2 separate regions of the Homo sapiens genome follow, and region 1 is linked to region 2. Evidence: promoter capture Hi-C in 16 types of primary human blood cells and fetal thymus (Javierre and others, 2016). All regions are on one chromosome and are shown on one strand. The core of a region is centred on a gene start or on the middle of the fragment in contact, and the rest is flanking DNA. Distances in the headings are between cores, read along the strand shown.

What was found. Contacts are between HindIII fragments. The CHiCAGO score rates a contact against its expected background, and 5 or more counts as called.
Region 1: a contact is called between a fragment that was not itself captured here and the fragment with the promoter of RAPGEF1 in region 2, in 1 of 17 cell types (non-activated CD4 T cells). The highest score is 5.1, in non-activated CD4 T cells.

The regions. Positions count from the first base shown.
Region 1 is chr9:131,432,844-131,437,119 of GRCh38, forward strand. PRRC2B (proline rich coiled-coil 2B) reads left to right here. Exons shown (of 32, transcript NM_013318.4): 4 at 3,777-3,879. Among named protein-coding and RNA genes, the nearest start is that of PRRC2B, 41 kb to the left of the region's middle. RefSeq lists enhancers at 3,233-4,208, 4,209-4,276. The HindIII fragment of the contact is 2,505 bases long and covers 1,722-4,226 here.
Region 2 is chr9:131,737,048-131,741,768 of GRCh38, forward strand. It overlaps RAPGEF1 (Rap guanine nucleotide exchange factor 1), which reads right to left and starts at 3,029. Exons shown (of 27, transcript NM_001377935.1): 1 at 2,723-3,029. The coding sequence starts at 2,783. RefSeq lists silencers at 2,413-2,742, 2,793-2,842, 2,993-3,252. The HindIII fragment of the contact is 12,763 bases long and covers 428-4,721 here.

The DNA.
Region 1 (4,276 bases), core at 1,724-4,223, 300 kb before region 2:
TCCCGGCATCCTTCCCTGTGGCAAACTAACCCTAACCCTTTGGCTACTGCAGCGCTAGTCTTGCAGTGGCAGAATTGGAACACTGGGAGATGCAAATGAAGCTGCTTCCTCTCTGGCCCTGGTGCTTCGTATGTTTCTTTTTCCCTGCCTTCATTTTTTCTGGCTTTTAGAGCCGATGGAGCAGCACATCTGTGGACAACCTTGTCCCCAGTGACCACTTTCCCCCTGTGCCTTATTAGGAAAGGCCTCATCACCCCAGAGGAGCTTATGCAATGACTCAGAGCCAATTCCTGTAAGAAACACTGTGGACAGAGCTGGGGCTTGAGGACTTCATTCCTGGTGATGGGTGTCCCTGTGAGCTGAGCTCTGCAGAGAATCATGCAGCTTCCCTAACCATCGGCCCAGCAGCTTCCCAGACAGAGGAGACTTCTGCTGTTGCTCTAAACAGACCTAGTCATCAGTGAGAACAGCACAGAATCCTCCAGGATCACTGTACTGCAGCCTCCCTGGAGGCTCACCTCCTGCCAGCACAGTACTTACAGAAACCCTAGGGGGCAGAGGGTGGCATGGTGCTGTCAATCAGAGAAACAGCCCCTGTGTGGTGGGCTGAAAACACAGGGCCTGGCTGCCTGGGGCCCACTTGGATGGCTGCACCTTTGTCTCCTGCTGCAAGTCCTCTCTGAGTGTTTAGCCAGTGCTAAGACAATTCAGGGAAGGGGATGTGTTCAGGGAGGGACAGGGCCTTGCTGAGGCTGGCAGGCAGAAATCTGCTGCTGGGGTTTGCCTGTTAAGGAATGTGAACAAAGCTGTCTGGCGGCAGCGCCCTCCTGGCCTGCATCTCTGGTGGCCTCCCTGCTGATGTAGGAAACCAGACGGTAAAAGGGACCCAGATCTCAGCCTGCTGACCCCAGCATCCTTTTCTTACAAGTCTGTGCTAGAAATGACCATGGTAGCTTTTGTAAAATTGTTGCCTGTATTTACTTCAGACAGGATGTAGAGAGTGAGCTAGTTTAGTTATTCAGCTAGATGATTATAAAGTAGTAATCAAAATAGGGCCTTAGAAGTTATTTTTAAAACATTTCTAAGAGTTTGCTTAGGGATCATATTGATGGACAGTATAGCATGACTTTTGAAATCTACCAGCCCTAAGTGGTTTCCAGCTAGACCACTTATTAGCTTGATGGAACCTGGAGAATTGTTTGACTTCTGAGCCTCAGTGTCCCCCCCTTGAAATAGGAATGATACCTGGCTTTGCTGGTGGTTACACGGTATCCATGAGGCATTGATGGGCTAGCATAGGTCAAGTGCTTAGCCTAAACCTGGCACAGAGGAGGGGCAGATATTGGCTGCTGTCATCATTCCATTCAAATGGTACTCATTCCATTCACACCATGAGCTCTGGAACGAAATGGATATTGCACATTTTAATGGAAGGACTGAAATCCTCTGCACCACCAAAAGTTCTAGAGAGGACAAAGCATTACTCCCTCCTGTTATCCAGCCTTTACTCTGCCTTTGCGGCTCCAGTGAGGGCTAGTTGTGCTGGAGCACGTCCGCCAGGGAAGAGGTGAGGATGGAGTGTTGGTGAGGGCATAGACCCCCGTGTAGTTCTCTGCTGCCCCAGGCCACATCCTCCCACCAAGGTATCAGGTGGCAAGTGGGCCCACAACGTGGGGACTCAGTGCTTAGTTTTGGAGAACACAAAAGTGCGACTACTTGGAAGCTTCTCTTTTAGGTAGAAGGAGATGTAAGAACCCGATCAGTAGCCTTCTGTTTGTAATAATCACGAATGGTGAGTTGCCTGGGTCAGGTGAATCTTGGAAGAGGGTGTCTGTATAGAGTTTGGCTTCCATTTACAGATAAGCCACTTGTATTGGAGGAGTTCCCACCAGGGGGGTGGCTGCCCTCCTTGAATCTCGTTGAGTGAAAAGTTGCCTACTGTGACCGGAGCGCTGAGTTAGAGCAGAAACCTTCATTCGGCCATTTCTTGTTGATTTCATCACTTCACCTGTGGAGTGTAAATTCACTGACACAGCCTTTTTTTGGAGGGCAGCCTGGCAATCATTTAAACTTCAAAATATCTTTTGATCCAGCATTTCCATTTCTAAGGTCGTATGCTATGGAATTACTTACAGAAAAATGGTGCAAAGATATGTATTAAAAAAAATTCTTGGCCGGGTGCAGTGGCTGACATCTGTAATCCCAGCACTTTGGGAGGCCGAGGAGGGTGGATCACCTGAGGTCAGGAGTTCAAGACCAGCCTGACCAACATGGCGAAACCCGATCTCTACTAAAAATACAAAAATTAGCTGGGCGTGGTCGTGCACGCCTGTAATCCCAGCTACTTGGGAGGATGAGGCAGGAGAATTGCTTGAACCCGGGAGGCAGAGGTTGCAGTGAGCCGAGATCATGCCACTGCACTTTAGCCAGAGTGACAGAGCGAGATTCCATCTCGAAAAAAAAGAAAAGAAAAAAAAGTTCTTATTGTAGGTCGGGCGCAGTGGCTCACACCTGTAATCCCAGCACTTTGGGAGGCTGAACTGAGCAGATCACATGAGGTCAGGAGTTCAAGACTGGCCTGGCCAACATGTTGAAACCCCGTCTCTGCTAAAAATACAAAAATTAGCCAGGCGTGGTGCTGCATAACTGTAATCCCAGATATTCGGGAGACTGAGGCAGGAGAATCGCTTGAACCTGGGAGAAAGAGGTTGCAGTGAGCTGAGATCATGCCACTGCACTGCAACCTGGGCGGCAGAATGAGACTCCATCTAAAAAAAAAAAAAAAAAAAAAAAAAGCCAAAAAATTCTTATTGCAGTTGTATCTGTAAGGGGGAAGAAAAACCCATATGAGAGACTGGTTAAATTATGACCTGTCTAGTTGTGTTGTGTGCTCATTAAAAGCAAAAGGAAGATCCGTTTCTATGTTGATGAAAAGATGTTCAGATGCATGAAGTAAAAAAGTCATAGAGCTTTATGTATGGGGTCACTCCACTTCTGTTAGAAAAATACTGTATTCCTGCAGTGTAAAACTCTGCTGGTTAAAAACAAAACTGTATTAACAGGTATAGAAAAGTCTGCTTGGAGTTTCTCTCTGGATGATGAGATCATGATGTTCTGTGTTACCTAGTTTTATTTATAAGTTTATTTTTACTATGAGCATGTATTTCTTTTATAAACTCAGAGAAGGTTAAAAAGTCAGCCCTCTGAGTAGGTATGGGCTCTGGGTCTGGGGTAAGGGGCACAAGCCCTTCATTCCAGTGATTGAATTTCCCTATTGGCAAATCCTTCATTTGCATTGTTTACAGTGAGCTTTTAGTTTTTGCAGACAGAAGGCTCTACAAGAAGGCAGAAAAGTTTCATTTTTAAAAAAGAAAGGCCAGGCAAGGTGGCTCAAGCCTGTAGTCCCACCTACTCAGAAGGCCGAGATGAGAGGATTGCTTGAGGCCGGGAAGCAGAGGTTGCATTGAGCCAAGTTTACCCCACTACACTCCAGCCTGGGTGATAGAGTGAGACCCCCTGTCTCAAAAAAAAGAAAAAGAAAAAGTCAGAGGACTGTCTTGTGCTAATTTTAAATGTCAGTGACTAGAACTTAAGCATGGTTTGTTTTCTTATTAGTTTTTGCCAGCATAAGAATCTACTGGGGAAAGTCGTATTTTTATTGGCCAGAGGAGGTCTGCTTCCTGTGAGCAGCTGAACAGCTGTGGCTCCTGAGAACGCAGAGACCTGGCCAGCGCACTCTGTGCGGTGCCTGACCCCACTGCCCTGCCTTTGTCTAGTTCCAGTGCGACGGCCTCTCAGCCGCCGGAGTCGCTGCCGCAGCCGGGTTTGCAGAAATCTGTCTCCAATTTGCAGAAACCGACACAGTCAATCAGTCAGGAGGTAGGTGCTGGGACCCCATCCCAACTGTTTCCTGGGCATGGTAGCCCCTAAATCTCTTTGTTGCTGGGGGATGGAAGGAGTTGCTACTGAGAAGTGTGGTTGTGCATGACCTGTCTATTCCAGAGGCACACCCGATGAGTGACTTTAGAAAACCGTCATGGGAAACCGTCAAGGTCAGTGGTTAAGAAATTTAATCTGCAGCTTTTAGAAAAAGACCTCAGATACAGACTAGGATACAGGCACCTACTTTGGTTCCTCTTGATTTACCGTGAGGCAGGGTCACTCAGGCTGGACTGCAGACTAGTTCAGGGTGAAGCTCCATGGAAGCGTCACGTGAGCTCCATGGAAGCTTGGGTCACAGGAAGACAAAAAGTGGCAGGTCACAAAAAGGTTCACT
Region 2 (4,721 bases), core at 1,779-4,278:
GCGCGCCCCAGTCTTCCTTGGCAGTTGTAATCTTTCACTATGATTCCTATGAACTGCAGCAAAAGACCTTCTGCAAGGAGGCTGGACTTCCAGCCAGCTCCACATCTGCAATCCCCAATCTGCAGGCGAGGTCCTGACCCTGGTCTTGCCAATCTCAGAACTCTTACTTTTTCTGCTTCTCACAAAATGCATCTTCCTCCCACACTTTCCGCAGCTCCTGGTCAGCCCCTTCCCCTCTCTCCTCTTTCTCCCTGTCTCCACCAGGTATATATCTCAGCCCTCTCTTCAGAGCCTAGCACAAACACTGTCCCCTCCAGTGTCTTCCTCATTCCCGCACTCATGACACCCCTCTCTCACCTGTGTCCATGGCAGCACGGTCGCTCGGTCTGGCAGCCTGGGTAGCTTAGAAACTGTGCTAGGTTAGACAAGCTTCTCTGGGAGCAGGCACTTTCATCTACAACCCCCTAGCAGAAGGCGGTGCCCAGAAAAGGCCCAAGGACAAACTATGCTGAAATGAACTGGCCTCAGGTCTTTCTCCCAAATAGCAGAGAACTCAAATGAAGAGTCATTTCATTCCCAGCGGTTTGGGCAGCTCATGGGATGACAGGCAACTTTTTCCTTTTTTTAAAAAAAGAGGCCCAGCGCGGTGGCTCACGCATGTAATCCCAACACTTTGGGAGGCCGAGGTGGGCGGATCACGAGGTCAGGAGATCGAGACCATATTGGCTAACACGGTGAAACCCTGTCTCTACTAAAAATACAAAAAAATTTGCCAGGCGTGGTGGCAGGCGCCTGCAGTCCCAGCTACTCGGGAGGCTGAGGCAGGAGAATGGCGTGAACCCAGGAGGAGGCGGAGCTTGCAGTGAGCCGAGATCGCACCACTGCACTCCAGCCTGGGCAACAGAGCAAGACTCCGTCTCAAAAAAAAAAAAAAAAATTTTTTTTAAAGTAGCAATGAGGTCTCGCCATTTTGCCCAGGCTTGTTTCAAACTCCTGGGCTCAAGTGATCCTCCTGCCTTGGCCTTCCAAAATGCAGGGATTACAGGCGTGAGCCACTGTACCTGGCTGACAGATGATTTCCAATCCGGTTCATTTTACTTTTCTGTGATTTCCAAGTTTTGACAATGAACATAGAATATTCTTATATTATAAAGATATAAAACATAATATAATCTTATATTAGATATAAAAAGATATAATATAATCTTATATATTATAAAGTTCTTATAAAAGAACTCAGTGAATGTTCTTTTTAAAATAAATTATCCAAGTTTCCCAACAGTACCGTTCTGACAAGACACTATACAAGAAGTTCCTGAGAAATGCTGCACAGATGAACCCAAGTTATTTCTGGAGCAGCAGGTGTACAGGATGGCGACTCATGGTCACTCGGCAAGGCTGTGGGGGCTCAAATTCAGTGAGAAAAATACTCAAGAAATGGCACCTGAACCCAAGCGCCCTGCCCCTGAGAAAAGCACCCTGGCTTCTGGTCAGAGGGCCAGGAATGAATATACTAGGGGCCTGCCGCCCTCTTGCTGTCTGGACAGCCGGAACTCACTGAACCTCTCTGAGCCTGTAAAACTGGGACCATATTCTTTCCCACAGACTAGCTTCAAAAATTTAAGAAGCAATGCATTTTAGGTGCTAAGAGTTAGATATATAGTAAACCCTCAATAAAGCCTACAAAAATGTCCTTCTGTGCTTCAACCACAGCCTGCAAAAGTCATATTGCCTTGTGGGTCCGCTGCAGGGGTGCACCCCACAGAAGTATCCCAGATTCAACCCAGGAAACATAAGCAACTTCCACAATCAAAGCCACAGACCTCCTTTGCAGCTCCCTAAAAATCTGCTTTCCCTCATTCAGCCGCCAAGCTAACCTGCTACCGGGGTTATGACCACAGGGCATGCTCCCAGTACAGGAGCCCAGGAGCACCCGCCCACTTCACCTTAGACCCAAGAATTCGCATTTGCCCTGCAAGGTGCTGCAGGCTAATAAAGCCTGGGGCCCCACAGGCTCGACAGTCATTGAATCTTTGGAGACTCTATTTCCAGGACAGGCAAACCCAGGGACTCGGAAGGTAACTCCCCCAGATTTCTAGGAACACACAAAGAGACGAGGTCTGCATCAAGATTTACCATCTACTCCAACCCACCGGTCCCCCACCTGCCCTCCTTGCAGAGCTGAGCTTGATCGGGGTGGGGAGGGGAAACTTGACTACCTCCTCAAAATACCCCCACTCATCCAGCCTGCTTCCTTTGAAGCAACCGAAGTGGACGCTTCTCGTTAAACTCGAAGCTCGTTAGAAATGACACATTTTACAGCTCAGCTGGGTTCACCCTCCTAGCGCCGAGCCCAGGCCGGGCACCGATCGCTGCAGCCGCAGCAGCACGCGGCCCGGGCTGTTCTTCCCCTGCTTGGGGCTCGAGCCATTTTCGGAAGTTCCCGGGGACCGCGGAGCGGCTAGCGCGCCCGGCCCCGGGTTGCAGGGGCCCCGCCCGGCCCGGCCCCTGGCGCCCCCGCAGCGGCCGCTTCCCCCCGCGCCCGGCAGGCAATGGGCCTGGAGGAGAAGCTGCCAGGCGCCCCGGCGAGGCCTCGGTGGCTTCACCCCGCCCCGGCGCACGGAGGGCCGCACATCCCGGGCGACCCGCGCTCGGCCCGGGGAGCGGCGGAGCCCCAGGGCCGGGCCCGGCCGGAGGGAGCCGCCCCACGCCCGCGCCTCACCTGCTTTCTCGATCTTGCCGGACATTTCCGGGCTGCGCCGGAGGCCGAGGCCGCCGCTCATCGGGCCCGGGCCGGGCCGCCGCGGGGCGACAGGGGCGGCGCGCCCGCCGCTCGCCTCGGCCCTGGCTCGCCACGCCTCAGACCCGCGCCGGCATGGCGGGCTCCGCGCGGCCGCGGCCCTGCGCTCGGCGACCGCGCTCCAGCCCGCCCGGGCCCAGCCGCTCCCGCCGCGCCCGCCGCCGCCGCTCCGCCTCCCGCGCGCCCGCCGCCGCTCCCCCGGCCCGCGAGCCGGCCGCAGCGCAGCGACGCCGCCCGCCCGCCCGCCGGGCCTCGGCCGCGGCCACGGCCACAGCGCCACCTGCCGGGCGCCCGCCGCGCCGCCACAGCGCCCCCTGTGGGCCCGGAGCCGCCCGAGCCTCCCGCGCGACGCGCGAGACGCAGCGCCCCCTGCCGAGCCGGAGTCCCCACGCCGGGGCCTGGGGCCTGGGGTGTGGGGCCGACCCCGCCTGGGACTCCGCATTCCTCTGCTGTGGGACCAGAGTCACCAGCTCCAGACCTGGGACTGACAGCTCCAACCCAGGGTCCTCGGTTGCCCAAGAGCCTGGCCTGCCCCCTCACCAGAGACACAGAGAACCCTCCTGGGTCAGATTTTCCACCCCAGGACGTGGAACTGACGCCCACCCCACCCTAGCATCATCCCGGACCCAGCATCCCCTGTGGGCCAGAGGCTCCACACCAGGGCCTAGAACTCACTCTCACCAGGACTCAACAAGCTCTGCTGGCTGGGAGCCTGTCCTGACCTCCCCCAAACCAGAGATGCAGCACCCCCTTTTTTGTTTTGTTTTTTGTTTTTGAGACCGAGTCTCACTTTGTCGCCAGGCTGGAGAGCAGTGGCGCGATCTCGACTCACTGCAACCTCTGCCTGCCGGGTTCAAGCAATTCTCCTGCCTCAGCCTCCTGAGTAGCTGGGATTACAGGCACATGCCACCATGCCCAGCTAATTTTTGTATTTTTAGTAGAAACGGGGTTTCGCCATGTTGGCCAGGCTGGTCTCGATCTTCTGACCTCATGATCCACCCACCTTGGCCTCCCAAAGTGCTGGGATTACAGGTGTGAACCACTGCACCCTGCCCGCACCCCCTTCTTAATTGGAGACCCCACACCAGGGCCTGGGAGTGGCCTCATAGCACCTCCTGCCAGCCCAGAGGCTCCAGCCGGGGAATGAGTCCACTCTGGCATGAAAGCCCTCTGCTGGCCCAAGGTCTATGCCAAGGCGGAGGATTCATTCTCCACCCCAGCCCTGCATGTGGGACTCAGTCACCCTGCCAGCGAGAGCCACCTGTCCCGGGCTGGGGTTGGCCCTACTCAGGCCTAAATGTCCCCTGAGGCCTAGAGCCTCCATGCTGGCCTGGGCCCAACTCCCTCAGGGACACAGCACACCCTGCCTGCCCTGCTTATTTGACATCCAGAAGGGCACCCTGGGGCTCAGCTGTGGAACTTTTCTAGTGTGGAAATGAGTTCATTAAAAGTCGTGGCTGGGCACGGTGGCTCACGCCTGTAATCCCAGCACTTTGGGAGGCCGAGGCAGGTGGATCACGAGGTCAAGAGATTGAGACCATCCTGGCCAACATGGTGAAACCCCATCTCTACTAAAAATACAAAAATTAGGTGGGCATGGTGGCACACGCCTGTAGTCCCAGCTACTTGGGAGGCTGAGGCAGGAGAATCTCTTGAACCCAGGACATGGAGGTTGCAGTGAACCGAGATCATGCCACTGTACTCCAGCCTGGTGGCTCCAGAGCGAGACTCCGTCTCAAAAAAAAAAAAAAAGTCGTGGTTGGGCACAGTGGCTCACGGCTGCAATCACAGCACTTTGGGAGGCTGAGGTGGGTGGATGACTTGAGCCCAGGGGTTCGAGACCAGCCTGGGCAATGTGTGAAACTCCGTCTCTACTAAAAATACAAAAATTAGCCAGGCACGGCGGCACCTGCCTGTAGTC